2 separate regions of the Homo sapiens genome follow, and region 1 is linked to region 2. The links are contacts of gene promoters, found by promoter capture Hi-C in human tissues and cell types (Jung and others, 2019). All regions are on one chromosome and are shown on one strand. Each heading gives the region's core, a stretch centred on a gene start or on the middle of the fragment in contact. The rest is flanking DNA. Distances are from core to core; before and after follow the strand shown.

Region 1 (5,891 bases), core at 755-3,254, 320 kb after region 2:
AAGATCATAGAAACTCCGGAGCCAGGAGGGAGGTGTTAAACCCAGGTTAGAAAGCAGGCAAAGAGTGGAGATGGGGCTTCAGAGTGCTTGCGGTATTTCCCATGCCGCCTGCACAGAAGGGAGAGAACCCGAGAGCCACGGTCTGGGCCGATGCCCTTGGACCTGGTGTGGCCCCTGTGCCCACCGCACCTACTCCCTTACCTGTCTGGTGCAGACCTTGTGTGTAGTCGCAGAGTTGTAATCAGACCAAGAGCCCAGAGAGCAGCCCAGTATGCCTCAGACTCCAAGCAGCATCTACAGTGGGACGGGGGAGCCGCCTCTCTGGTCATGTCTCTGTCCTGAGGAGCCAGGGGAAGAAACCATCCCTGAGCACACAGTTCAGTGTCTGTGGACCTGAAGTGAGTGTAAGCAAAGCTTCGCGAACCTCTACAGACCCACACCTGGTCCCAGAATGCCCCAGGCACGGCAGGCTCCCCCATCTGGATGGGATGATGGCTTCACAAAACTATGCCCAATCTCAAAACCCATTCTCAGGGACGAGTTTAGTGTCTTCAATAAGGGGCATTTGTCAAATTGTTTGGGAACATTCAATTTTGAAGAAAAAAACAACAAACGCAATGGGTGAATCTCATAGGATATGTCAAGTAGAGATAAATAGGAAGTAGAGCAGGTGTATATCAAACAGAGGAGGAGATACGAGCTCTAAGACACCTAGTATTCATGAAGCACCACATGGACCCAAGGCAGCTGGGCAGCAAAGACTCACGATACATTCGACATGGAAAAGGTGCTCGATACCACGATACATTTGTATGCACGGGACCAGTTACCCAGAGGAACCTGATATTCCCTCAAAATTCGCTTCCCCACTGGTGACCCAATGCTGGTCCTCTGAATCCAAGGCTGTTCAACACACTCACTAGTGAGCCCAGACGTGGCAGGGCAGAACCATCCCTGTGTCTCTCCAACACGACGGGGCGTATGTCTTGGCCCAGGGCACCTCCCATCCGTGGCCCCCATGCAAGTGCTTCAAGTCAGGTCCTTCTCCTCACACATTAGTGGGGAAGGCGGATGCTGCAGAGCAAGACAGGACACACGGATGCTTTCCAGCTACCACATCTCCGTCCCCACCCTCTGTACCGTGTCCCCTACCCCATCCCCATCCCCACCCTCTGTACCGTGTCCCCTACCCCATCCCCGTCCCCACCCTCTGTACCGTGTCCCCTACCCCATCCCCGTCCCCACCCTCTGTACCGTGTCCCCTACCCCATCCCCGTCCCCACCCTCTGTACCGTGTCCCCTACCCCATCCCCGTCCCCACCCTCTGTCCTGTGTCCCCTACTCCATCCCCATCCCCACCCTCTGTCCTGTGTCCCCTACTGCATCTCTGACCCCACCCTATCCTACCTATATCACCTACCCCATCTCTGTCCCACCCCTGTCCTGTGTCACCTACCCCTCTTCCGTCCCCTCGCTTCTCCCTGTGTGTTCTAAATTGCGTCAAGGTTGTTCCCCACATGACAGCTTCCACCAGCAGCTGTGCTCAGGAGCACTGTGTATGGCAGTTATGCTCATTTTCCTTAAATGCCATCAGATCTCAGTTATGGAAGGACCCTTTATTGCTTTAGGGAACATTATTAGTAGGGGTCCTAACTGGTAGTTATAACAAATGCCCTTTAACCGTCTTACAAGAAAGACAATAAGAGAGTAATACCTATAAATAATTTATGGAGCATTTTCTATGTTTGTCATACAGCACCTCATGTAATGCTCATGTATGTGTGTGTGTGTGTGTGTGTGTCTACCACCCCCCCACCCCATCTAAGGGGTGACTGAGGTTGCAGGACTTCTAAGTGGCACAGCAGAAACCAGAGCCTGGGCTGGGCATGGTGGCTTACGCCTGTAATCCCAGCACTTCGGGAGGCCATGGTGGGTGGATCACTTGAGGTCAGGAGATCGAGACCAGCCTGGCTAACATGGAGAAACCTCGTCTCTACTAAAAATACAAAAATTTGCCAGGTGTGGTGACAGGCACCTGTAATCCCAGCTACTCAGGAGGCTGAGGCAAGAGAATCCCTTGAACCCAGGAGGCAGAGGTTGCAGTGAGCAGAGATCGCGCCACTGCACTCCAGCCTGGGCGACAGAGCAAGACTCCATCTCAAAAAAAAAAAAAAAAAAAAAGACACTAGAGCCTGACTCCCCTGACCTTGACTGGACCAACTGCTTTAAAAAGAAGGCAACCTCTCTGACATTTTCTCCTCCCACATATGGGGCAGTGTTTCCGAGAGTAGTTTCTTGGAAACTGCACACCCCGCAGCTAATGGTTCTGGTGCTTCCCACAGACATGAGAATTTGAGGGCAGAAACCATGGAGAGACTGGTGTATGGACCTCAGAGGTTAAGGCAAATATTTCTGGAAGTTCTTCAGCTACACACAGTTAAAAACCAGCCCCACACACCACAGCCAGGAGAAGGCCTGAGCAAATAAATACCTTTCCATCTGCACTTTTCAAAACGAACTTCCATAATTTCCTTTCACAGATACCCAGATCATAAGAAAAATGTCTGAGAATCCTTCCTACCAGCAGTCTCCTCCAGAATGGTATCTGAGCCTGTGAAAAGCTGGTGGCTGACGCTGCTCAGGAGGTGCCCTGTTACATCACATGCCTGTCTTATCATTTCCCATCATTTCACTGCTAAATTCACTGGGCACCGACAGAAACAGCATCTCTAGTTCATTATCCACTTGGCTCAGGATTATGGGTTAGACCCCCTTAAAAGCAATACAAATATCTTCAAGGTAATTTGTCAAAATCATAAATGTGTCTTAAGGACTCTTAATCTGACCTAAAGTTTTGAAGTTATTTTCCAGACACAGAGATCTAGAAAGAGCATTATTTGATGAGAATTCTCCTGATTTCCGTTCAGTTTGGGGAAAACAGAAGGATTTTGAACGCTGGCTGTCTGTGTTGTCCTACCCACAGGTGACACCAGCAGTACCGGTGTTTGCAGGTATCTAGACAACAGAAGAGATCGGCGGGACACCAGCCAGCATCAAGCCACAGGTGGGCCTGTGAACACCAGGCCGGGCCGGCCTGTCTCCCTTTCAAAGGCAGTTCTCTTGCATCTCACATCCATGTGGCCAAGTTGTTACTTTAAGTTCCACCTCCTCCAAGAAGCTTCCCCTGATTACCTCCCCTTCCAAATCCAGTGTGAACTGAGTGTGAACTAAATCCAGGGCTCAGGCTTGCAGGTACAGGCTTGACAAGGGCTCATCTTATTCACCAGAAGCAGCAATTATGACTCGGACCTTTCCGGCTTGTAGTGAGTGCCAAGCACACAGGGGGTTGCTCTGATGATGAGGCAGCAACAGCATAAATAGGAACGGTGGTTTGGAAGACGCCCATCCCCATGACAGTGGGCCGGGCTGTGTACGCAGAAAGCCATTCAATCCCCGCAACGCCGCTGCCAGCTACTCCTTCCTTGCCTTCTCCCAGCCCTGACTGAAGTCTCCAGCAGCCCCGACGGCTCTCCCAGTCTTTTTCAGGTAATAAAAAGGCCTAGCACACTTTACCCAAGACAGTGGTGAATACAGAGATATTTTAAACTTCCTTTTATGTATCAAGGGCAAAGCCTGGAAGCTGGAGCCTAGAGCTCTCCCCAAAGCCATGATGTGCAGAGGACAGAAGACAGAACCTAAGAAACAGCCCTGCCCCACAGGTAGAAAAATGCCTTCTGGGTCTGGGACATGAACCCAGGCACTGAGCACCTACCGCTGTGCACCCCACCTGGAGGAGCAGGGGTGGGGCTGAGGGGGCGTTCTTGTCCTGCTTCCTGTGGGAACTCAGGGAAGGCCGAGCTCAGAACAGTAGAAATGGAGGCCTAGTACGGTTCCGCACAACCTGGGCGGGCTCCCAGGTGCCCAATAGGGGCCCAGAAGAGACCTCAGAGCATGGGGACCTCTGGGCCAATGGAAGAGCCAGGTCCCCGCTGTGGCTCACCCTGGGGACACCAGCTGGACAATGATGGAAATGTGAGCCGGAGGCTCCATGTGGAGGGGAAAGGGACTCACTGGGGCACCGCAAGAGGACCAGATGACCAGTCAGGGCCACTCCCCTCAAGCTCTGATGGGACTACAACCCTCTCCTGGTGCCCAGGGGTGACTTGTAGCGAAAAGGGGTCCCCGAGGAGTAACGTGGAAAGACTGAGAGACTGACTCCCACCAGGGACGAAGCTACCTTTAAGCTAAATAGTGACTGAAATAATACCATTGAATTAGGCTCTAGAAAAACAGAACCATGCACTGGGAACTGAGTATATGAAAAAGGGAACCAAGGGACTTCACTAGGGACAGCAAAATCAAGCTCACTTACACAAAATTTTGCACCTTTCCACAATAAACCCTGGGCAGGTTTCCACCCAGAGAGTCCACCTGCAACACAAGCAGTATTTATGTGCACAACAAGCAACTGCATGACAAGGCACGGAGCCAGCCTGCAGGGGAAGAGCCAGTGACTGCAAGGTAGCTAAGTCAAATCCAGGCCCACCAGGACATCACAGAAAACCCACCCTCCTGGAGGCCTGGTACCTTCACATCTATTCTCTCATTTAACCAAGAGCATCCCTGAGGGCTGGCCAGCTGAGTCCATTTCAGCTGCTATAACAAAATACCATAAACCGGGCAGCTCATAGACAACAGACATTTATTCCTTGCAGTTCCAGAGGCTGGAAGTCCAAGATCAAGGCACTGGCAGGTTGGGTGTCTGGTGGGGGCCCATTCCTCATAGAAGGCGCCTCCTCACAGTGTCCTCACATGGTGGAAGGGACGAGCGAGCTCCTTGCGCTTCTTTTATAAGGGCACCAAGCCCATTCATGACCTATCACTTCCCAAAGGCCTCATCTCTTAATACCATCACCTTGAGGATTAGGAATCCACATATGAATTTTTGGGGGGACACAAACATTCAAACCATAGCACTATCACTGCTCTCATTTCCCTGAATGGTGCACTGAGATTGGTCAAGATTCATCCTTTTTTTTTTTTTTTTTTTTTGAGACTGAGCCTCACTCTGCTGCCCAGGCTGGAGTGCAGTGGTGCCATCTCAGCTCACTGCAACCTCTACGTCCCTGGTTCAAGCAATTCCCCTGCCTCGGCCTCCCGAGTAGCTGGATTACAGGCGCCACACCTGGCTATTTTTGTTTTGTATTTTTAGTAGAGTCAGGGCTTCACCACGTTGGCCAGACTGGTCACGAACTCCTGACCTCAGGCAATCCACCTGCCTCGGCCTCCCAAAGTGCTGGGATTACAAGTGTGAGCCATCGCGCCCAGCCAAGATTCATCTTAACTAGCCTAAGAGGGCCAAGCAGAGCAGTGATCTCAGCAGGACAGCCACCCGTTAGTGAGCCCCACATGACGCATCCTATGCAGCAGCTGAGCTGCGCAGCATCCATGGATGGTACACTTTATTTTATAAGTGAGGAAACAGATGCTTAGAGAGTAAGAACTTGACTCGTGGAGGAGGTCCAGAATCAGACTCAGGCAAGCCAGGTACTCACTACAGGCACAAAATTTAAGGGGGTACCAAAAATGCAGTCAGATAAATGCCTTATTACAATATTTTAAAACATCAAAACAAATACAAAAATCCCTAATGTACAAAATCTCACATTTTTAAATAAAGACAGGATCAGTGTTCCTGATTTTTCCTGTTGCCTCAGACTCCAAGATGGCACAGCATAGGGGCAGAGCCCAGAAACCAGCCCAGCTCAACCTTCTCCACCAGCTCCACACGACACTGTCTCTAGATATCTTTCTCCTCACAATTTTATAACCTCAATAGGTTCTTAGGATGACCACAGTGCTCCATCATTCCAGGTGTGCGCCCGTGGGAC
Region 2 (5,954 bases), core at 792-3,291:
CAATGGCGGGAAAAGCAAAGTCTGTACCAGCTGTCCCAACCATAATCTCTGCCTACAGCATTCTAGCCAAACAGCTCCGCTTTCTATACTGGAGAGACCATGTTCCATTCATCAGTATTTGTTCCCTGAACTGGAGCCTGGCGCTCCGTACATGTTTGCTGTATCAACCGCTGCAGAAAGCCAGCTTGGAATTCTCTGTGCTGCTGCTATTGTCCTCCACTTGGAGTTTCTTTCCTCAGTCCTACTCAGTGTACTTTCTTCCCTTGACTACTCATCAACATGGCCTTCCGATGCTGAACGTCTGGATAAAATCCAGTCTCCTCACTCTGACACACATACAGGCCTTCACACCTGGCTGCAACCTTCCCCTCAGGCCTTCTGTCGCATTCCCCTATGGCAGGACACTAGCTCCTCTGCGCCCTCCCACATCTCCCTGCCTCTGCACTTGCTGTTCTTTCAGATTTTCCCCACAACCACAACAGTTCCCACTCCTTTACTTGATAAACTACTACTCAACTTTTAAGACTCAGCTCAAATGTCATCTCAGAAGATTCCAAATTCTGAAGCAAAATCAGACGCTCTCCCTTGGGCTAACGCATTTTTCTCCTCAAGATCTAGTCATTAAACACATGTTTAATAAATGCTTACAGTCTTATGGCAGGAATTTAGACCCTTAGATGTCTATTTCTCCCATGACACCAAGCTTACATGGGTAGTGACTGTTACTGATTCATCTTCGTTATCACCAGTGTCAGGTACCATGCCTGCCACTTAAGAGGCATTTACCAGGAGCTGGCTGAACGGCAGCACCAGTGAGTAAGGGGCAGAAGGGACACAGCCCTGGACAGGGGAGCCTGAAAACAACGGTACTTCAGTTTCCTCATTTATATAAGGAAGTTGGGCGAGATAATCTCTTAAATTTATAATAACTCAAGTTTTACTAGACATTGGGAGGCGAGAATGGCTGACTGCTAAAATCAGTGAACCAAACAAATTGTGACTCGGTAGAAACACTGGTACAGTCTTACAGTGGATGTCCATTTGGGGGTAATCTTTTCTCTGAAATAACAGCAACTTTCTGAAACTACATCCCCCAATGCAAAGACAATTGCACACAATTGAATGCCCTCTCGTCGGGCCTCTGCAATTGGAAAAGGCACTTGTGCTTTACTTGAGCTCTAATCCAGAACTCAGGTCCACTGTGAACCTCACTACATGTTTCAGTGCATTCCAAGAGGGTGCTGAGGAGACCTGTGTCTGTAGCCGGGGAGTGAAGGAAGAGTGTAGGGGAAGCAAGATACGAAATCGTGAAAATATGGAGTTGCCTTATTTTTACAACTTAACATCCAAGAATGCAGAGAACTGTAACTCAGAAACAAATTCACATCAACACAAGTCAAACTGAGCACACATTGTCACAACTGAACAGGCAGGAGACACTACTGGCCAGGGCAGTGTACCAGGTTTACGCAACTCTCTGGAATCATTAATTCTACAGATTATCATTTCTAGGCAGGCAAGAAACCTGGCTTATTCTCCTTTATGTCTCCAAAGCCTAGTAGAGTGCTAGCATTCAATAAAGGCTTCGTGAACTGAAATGGGTTAACCTTTACAAAAACCCGACAGGGTGCGTTTATCGTTATCTCCGATTTAACCCCACAGGGAACTGGGGCTCCGACAGCTCAGTGGATCTGCGCACGTTCAGTGAGCCCGAGCTGTGACCTACGCCCGGGATGGTTAACTCCAACCGCCGCCGCGGGCGACCCGCTGCCCTCCGCCGAGCCAGGCCTGCCTGGGACAGGGGTCGTCACCACCGGGAGCGCCCGGCCGCGCTACCTGGACCACACAGTCCGACTGCAGCAGACACGCGCCCAGGTCCTCCTTCAGGCCCGCGCACGCGCCGCCCTGCGGCTTGTCCTCATAATACTTAGGCATGACGGCGCTTCCCCTCCGATGCGGACGCGACTTTCTCCCACCGCAACACTTGCAACCGGGTCGGGAGCGAGCGAGGCCCCAGTCTCAGGGGACCGGAAGCCAGCGGCAACAACTTCCGGCGGGCCGCGGCGGTAGGGCCGAGGACTACGGGGGCCGAGAGGTGGCGCGTCCGCGGCGGAAGTCGGTTCCCGTGACGCGGCGCGCCCCAAGGGCCGGCTCCGTTGAGGGAAGGGAAGCCCGCCCGGTGGCGGCTGGGGTCGGCTGCTGGGAGGAGGTGGTGGGCTGGTTCGGACGTGGGTCGAGGCTGTAGCAGGACTCCAGGTGAGGCCTGAGGACCACTCTGCCCTCCCGCGGCCCGGGCTCGCGCCGGGGGCCATTTAATCCCGACAGCTTGCGGCCTGACGTCGCTGCGGCCTGGCAGTGACCATGTCGGCGTCCGGCCCCTCGGCCGGCGATAGAGTTGCGGCTAAAATGAAAGGACGCCCAGTTACATTTGCATCGTAGATAAAGAAAGAGCATTTAGTATAAGCATGTCCGAAATGTTGCGTGGGATGTAGGCATACTAAAACCTTATTCGTGGCCTGTCTGAAATCCAAATGGAGCTGGGTATTCTGTGTTTTTATTTGCTAAATCTGGCAGCCGTACCCGCGGCCCCGGGCAGGGAGGGAGCAGCTGGGCTCGGCCAGACCCTGCCGGCGTCTGGGGGGCCTGCGAAGTGGAGGGGAGACGGGCAGCCGGGCAGTGGCCGGCGTTCCCCGGAGCTCGGACCGGTTGGATTGGACTCCGACGCTACCGCTCCCTCTGCTGAACTATTCCGGATGTAAAACACTAGGGATCGGAGTTTTTCTTGGTTTTTTAATCTCATTCTAGTGACCGAGAAGCTTGCTGGCAGTGCGCTGATGGATCTGTGTGAATAGGCCATTTATTTGACCTCTTCAGTAACACTGTTCTAACCGGCTGAAACTGCTTTCTTAGGCATTTTCTTAAAAGCTTGGTGGTTAAGAGCACGGAATTTCGAGTCAGATTTCCAATCTTGGCTCTATCACTATCCTCGGAGTCATGGGGCAGTCACATCATCCCTGTCTCTGTAATGGTAGCTGCCCCTGGATAAGTGTTATTAGGTGATTCAGAAGGGTGGGCTGTTGCCCTTGCCTGAGGTTGCAGTCTGCGGTTCCCAAGCCCCAAGACCCGCCTCAGAACTAACTGCATTTGCTTTTGACTCCTGGCCTTTCTCTAGGGTTGGGAAGAACATGGAAAGTGACCTCCCTGCCAAATAACTCAGAAGAGGAGTGTCGGTAGCCAAATGTTTCTTCAGAATACGTGTAAAAGAAATGTTTTTCTTCCATCTAGGAAGATGTTACCGAGTACTTCAGTGAATTCCTTAGTGCAGGGGAACGGAGTCTTGAATTCCAGGGATGCGGCAAGACACACAGCCGGAGCGAAACGCTACAAATATCTGAGAAGGCTTTTCCGCTTTCGGCAAATGGACTTTGAATTTGCTGCCTGGCAGATGCTCTACCTGTTCACATCCCCACAGAGAGTTTACAGAAATTTTCATTATCGAAAACAGACGAAGGACCAGTGGGCCAGAGATGACCCTGCTTTCTTGGTCCTGTTAAGTATCTGGCTCTGTGGTAAGTGTGTTTATCTGAGATAGAATTGAACGCTGAGTGTTTCTGATTAGATTTTTTGTTATAAATGTGTTGTGGGTCAGAATCTGGAAATATTGGAAACTATTTCTCCTTTTTACTGAAGCCTCAAAAAATCTCACAGGAAAGAAAGTTGTAGTCTTGGTTCTACAGGTCCCAAGCAGATGCCAGAGTAAACTGTTACCCTAGGACATTGAAAAGCAGGGGACAAGATTCACTCCATATCTTTTTAAGTACTTGAATCGGTACCCAAATGTCAGCTGACTGTGAATAGGAATATGAAACTGGAAATTGCATTTCACAGGCAAATCCACAGTGAGAATTGTAAAGGTATTGATGGGAACCTGAGAAACTGAAGTTCTCCAATTCCATAATGCAAGGGTCTCATTTACCTGTAGGGTGTTGAAGTGGGTAAGATATTGAAGTTTATAGGGTGTTTTGCACCTTAACTGGACTTAAACTATGTTAGTGCCTTCTCTACACTGGCGTTCTAAATACTGAGGCCACCGTGGTGAATCAGCCTGGCAAGGGCCCACCTCAGGAAACTTCAACTCTCTCAGTGGCCACGCTGTGTCCCAAGGTAGTGTTCACACATCTTGGGAGTTTTGTTTAAAGACCTGTCTCTCCCACTAGCCTGGGCATCTGGAGGGCAAGGGATGTGTCCTGTATTTCCAGAACCTAGCAGAGTCCCTAAATGAATCTTGTGAATCTTTCTTTCAGTGTCCACTATAGGATTTGGCTTTGTGCTGGACATGGGATTCTTTGAGACAATAAAGCTTCTCCTTTGGGTTGTACTCATAGATTGTGTAGGCGTTGGTCTTCTGATAGCAACTTTAATGTGGTAAGTACCATAACTTTGGTTTTTCAGATACTGCTGTAGCATCTCCATTTGTTTGCTTCAGAGGTACAATAGCAGCAGATGGAAATTGAAACCCAGGTAGAGTTACTAAATGATCAATTTTGACTGCCAAGATTATTACAATTTTCCCTCCTGTGTTGCCACCTATATCAGAAAATACTATAAAGGCTGGTTTATAATATTGTCAAATGTAGCAAATAATTGAAATAATTATGTTTTGAACCCAAAATATCTGAGATCGGTCTCAATTTAGAAAGTTTAGTTTGCCAAAGTTAAGGACATGCCTGTGACACAGCCTTAGGAGGTCCTGATGACATGTGCCCAAGGTGGTCGGGGCACAGCTTGCTCTTATACATTTTAGGGAGACTTGAGACATCAGTCAATATGTGTAAAATGTACATTGTTTTAATCCAGAAAGTGGGGAAAGGCAGGTTACAGTTAGATAAGAGACAAATGGTTGCATTCTTTTGAGTCTTTGATCTGCCTTTCACTGAATACACAATTTACTTGTGAGAGGCAGGTACAGGAATAGTCATTTATGCCTTAATCTGGCTCAGTGAGTCTGCATTTTTACATAAACAATGGGGCAGAGGAAGCAATCAGATAAACACTTGTCTCAGGTGAGTAGAAGGAGGACTTTCTGTCCCACACCTGTAAAGATAAGCTATCTTAGGAATAAAATAGGAGGCAAGTTTGCCTGACACAGTTACCAGCTTGACTTTTCCCTTTGGCTTAGTGATTTTGGGGTCCCGAGATTTATTTTCTGCATACTAACAAAATGCCTGGTTTTGCAAAAATATTACAGATTTAGCCAGTTCTGCTTAAGTTGTCTGGATGATAGCATGGTTTTCTGCATTTGTCAATAGAGACCACTTCTTGATATTCATTGTGTTTAAATCCATTTAGATCTAAAGGGTTATTTTGTGGAGTCTTACTTTGAATCTTTGCATTAAATGAAGTATACTTGAAAAAGAAGGATTTTTTTTTTAAACTTCTCATGCCTTCCTACTGAGAATAAAATTCTCTCTCTTTCTCTCATACACACACACCCTCCGCCCCCCCCGCCCCCCCACCGCCACACACACACACGGGCTTTATCAGAAGGGTTCTCAGTCTGACTTTGGTTGATTTAGCAACAGCAGTGTACTGAGGATAAATCTGGTGTTTGGTAAAGTCCTCCTGTGTGGTTGGCATGCTGGATGAAGGGCAGGGGATGTGGCTAGCGATCTCAGTAGAGGACCAGTGGTTGGGTAGACATGGTGGTCATTGTGGAGAACATTTTAGTTGCAGAGAGACCTGGGTTCAAATGCCAACTTAGTTATCTGTGAAACTCTTAGTCCCAGTCTCTTCTTTTACAAAATCTAGTTAATTACCTATTCTGTCCAATTTTTGAGATAATTATGTTATGAAAATTACCTGACACAGTTAAGTGTTCAATATTTGGTAGTTACTAATATTTTAAGCAAAACTCTGCAACTATAACTTCTGATACCAGCCTTTTTTTTTTTTTC

The links. Contacts are between HindIII fragments. The study calls those that stand out against the background at their distance.
Region 1: a fragment that was not itself captured here is called in contact with the fragment with the promoter of COA5 in region 2 in 1 of the 25 tissues and cell types used here (dorsolateral prefrontal cortex).

Annotation. Positions count from the first base shown.
Region 1 is chr2:98,929,165-98,935,055 of GRCh38, forward strand. The region is part of intron 1 of CRACDL (CRACD like); the gene reads right to left. Among named protein-coding and RNA genes, the nearest start is that of CRACDL, 4.1 kb to the right of the region's middle. The HindIII fragment of the contact is 5,395 bases long and covers 1-4,702 here.
Region 2 is chr2:98,606,471-98,612,424 of GRCh38, forward strand. It overlaps COA5 (cytochrome c oxidase assembly factor 5), which reads right to left and starts at 2,042. Exons shown (of 3, transcript NM_001008215.3): 1 at 1,837-2,042. The coding sequence starts at 1,935. It overlaps UNC50 (unc-50 inner nuclear membrane RNA binding protein), which reads left to right and starts at 2,119. Exons shown (of 6, transcript NM_014044.7): 1 at 2,119-2,256; 2 at 3,286-3,569; 3 at 4,305-4,425. The coding sequence starts at 3,290. RefSeq lists an enhancer at 1,194-2,183 and a silencer at 2,247-2,346. The HindIII fragment of the contact is 3,715 bases long and covers 1-3,642 here.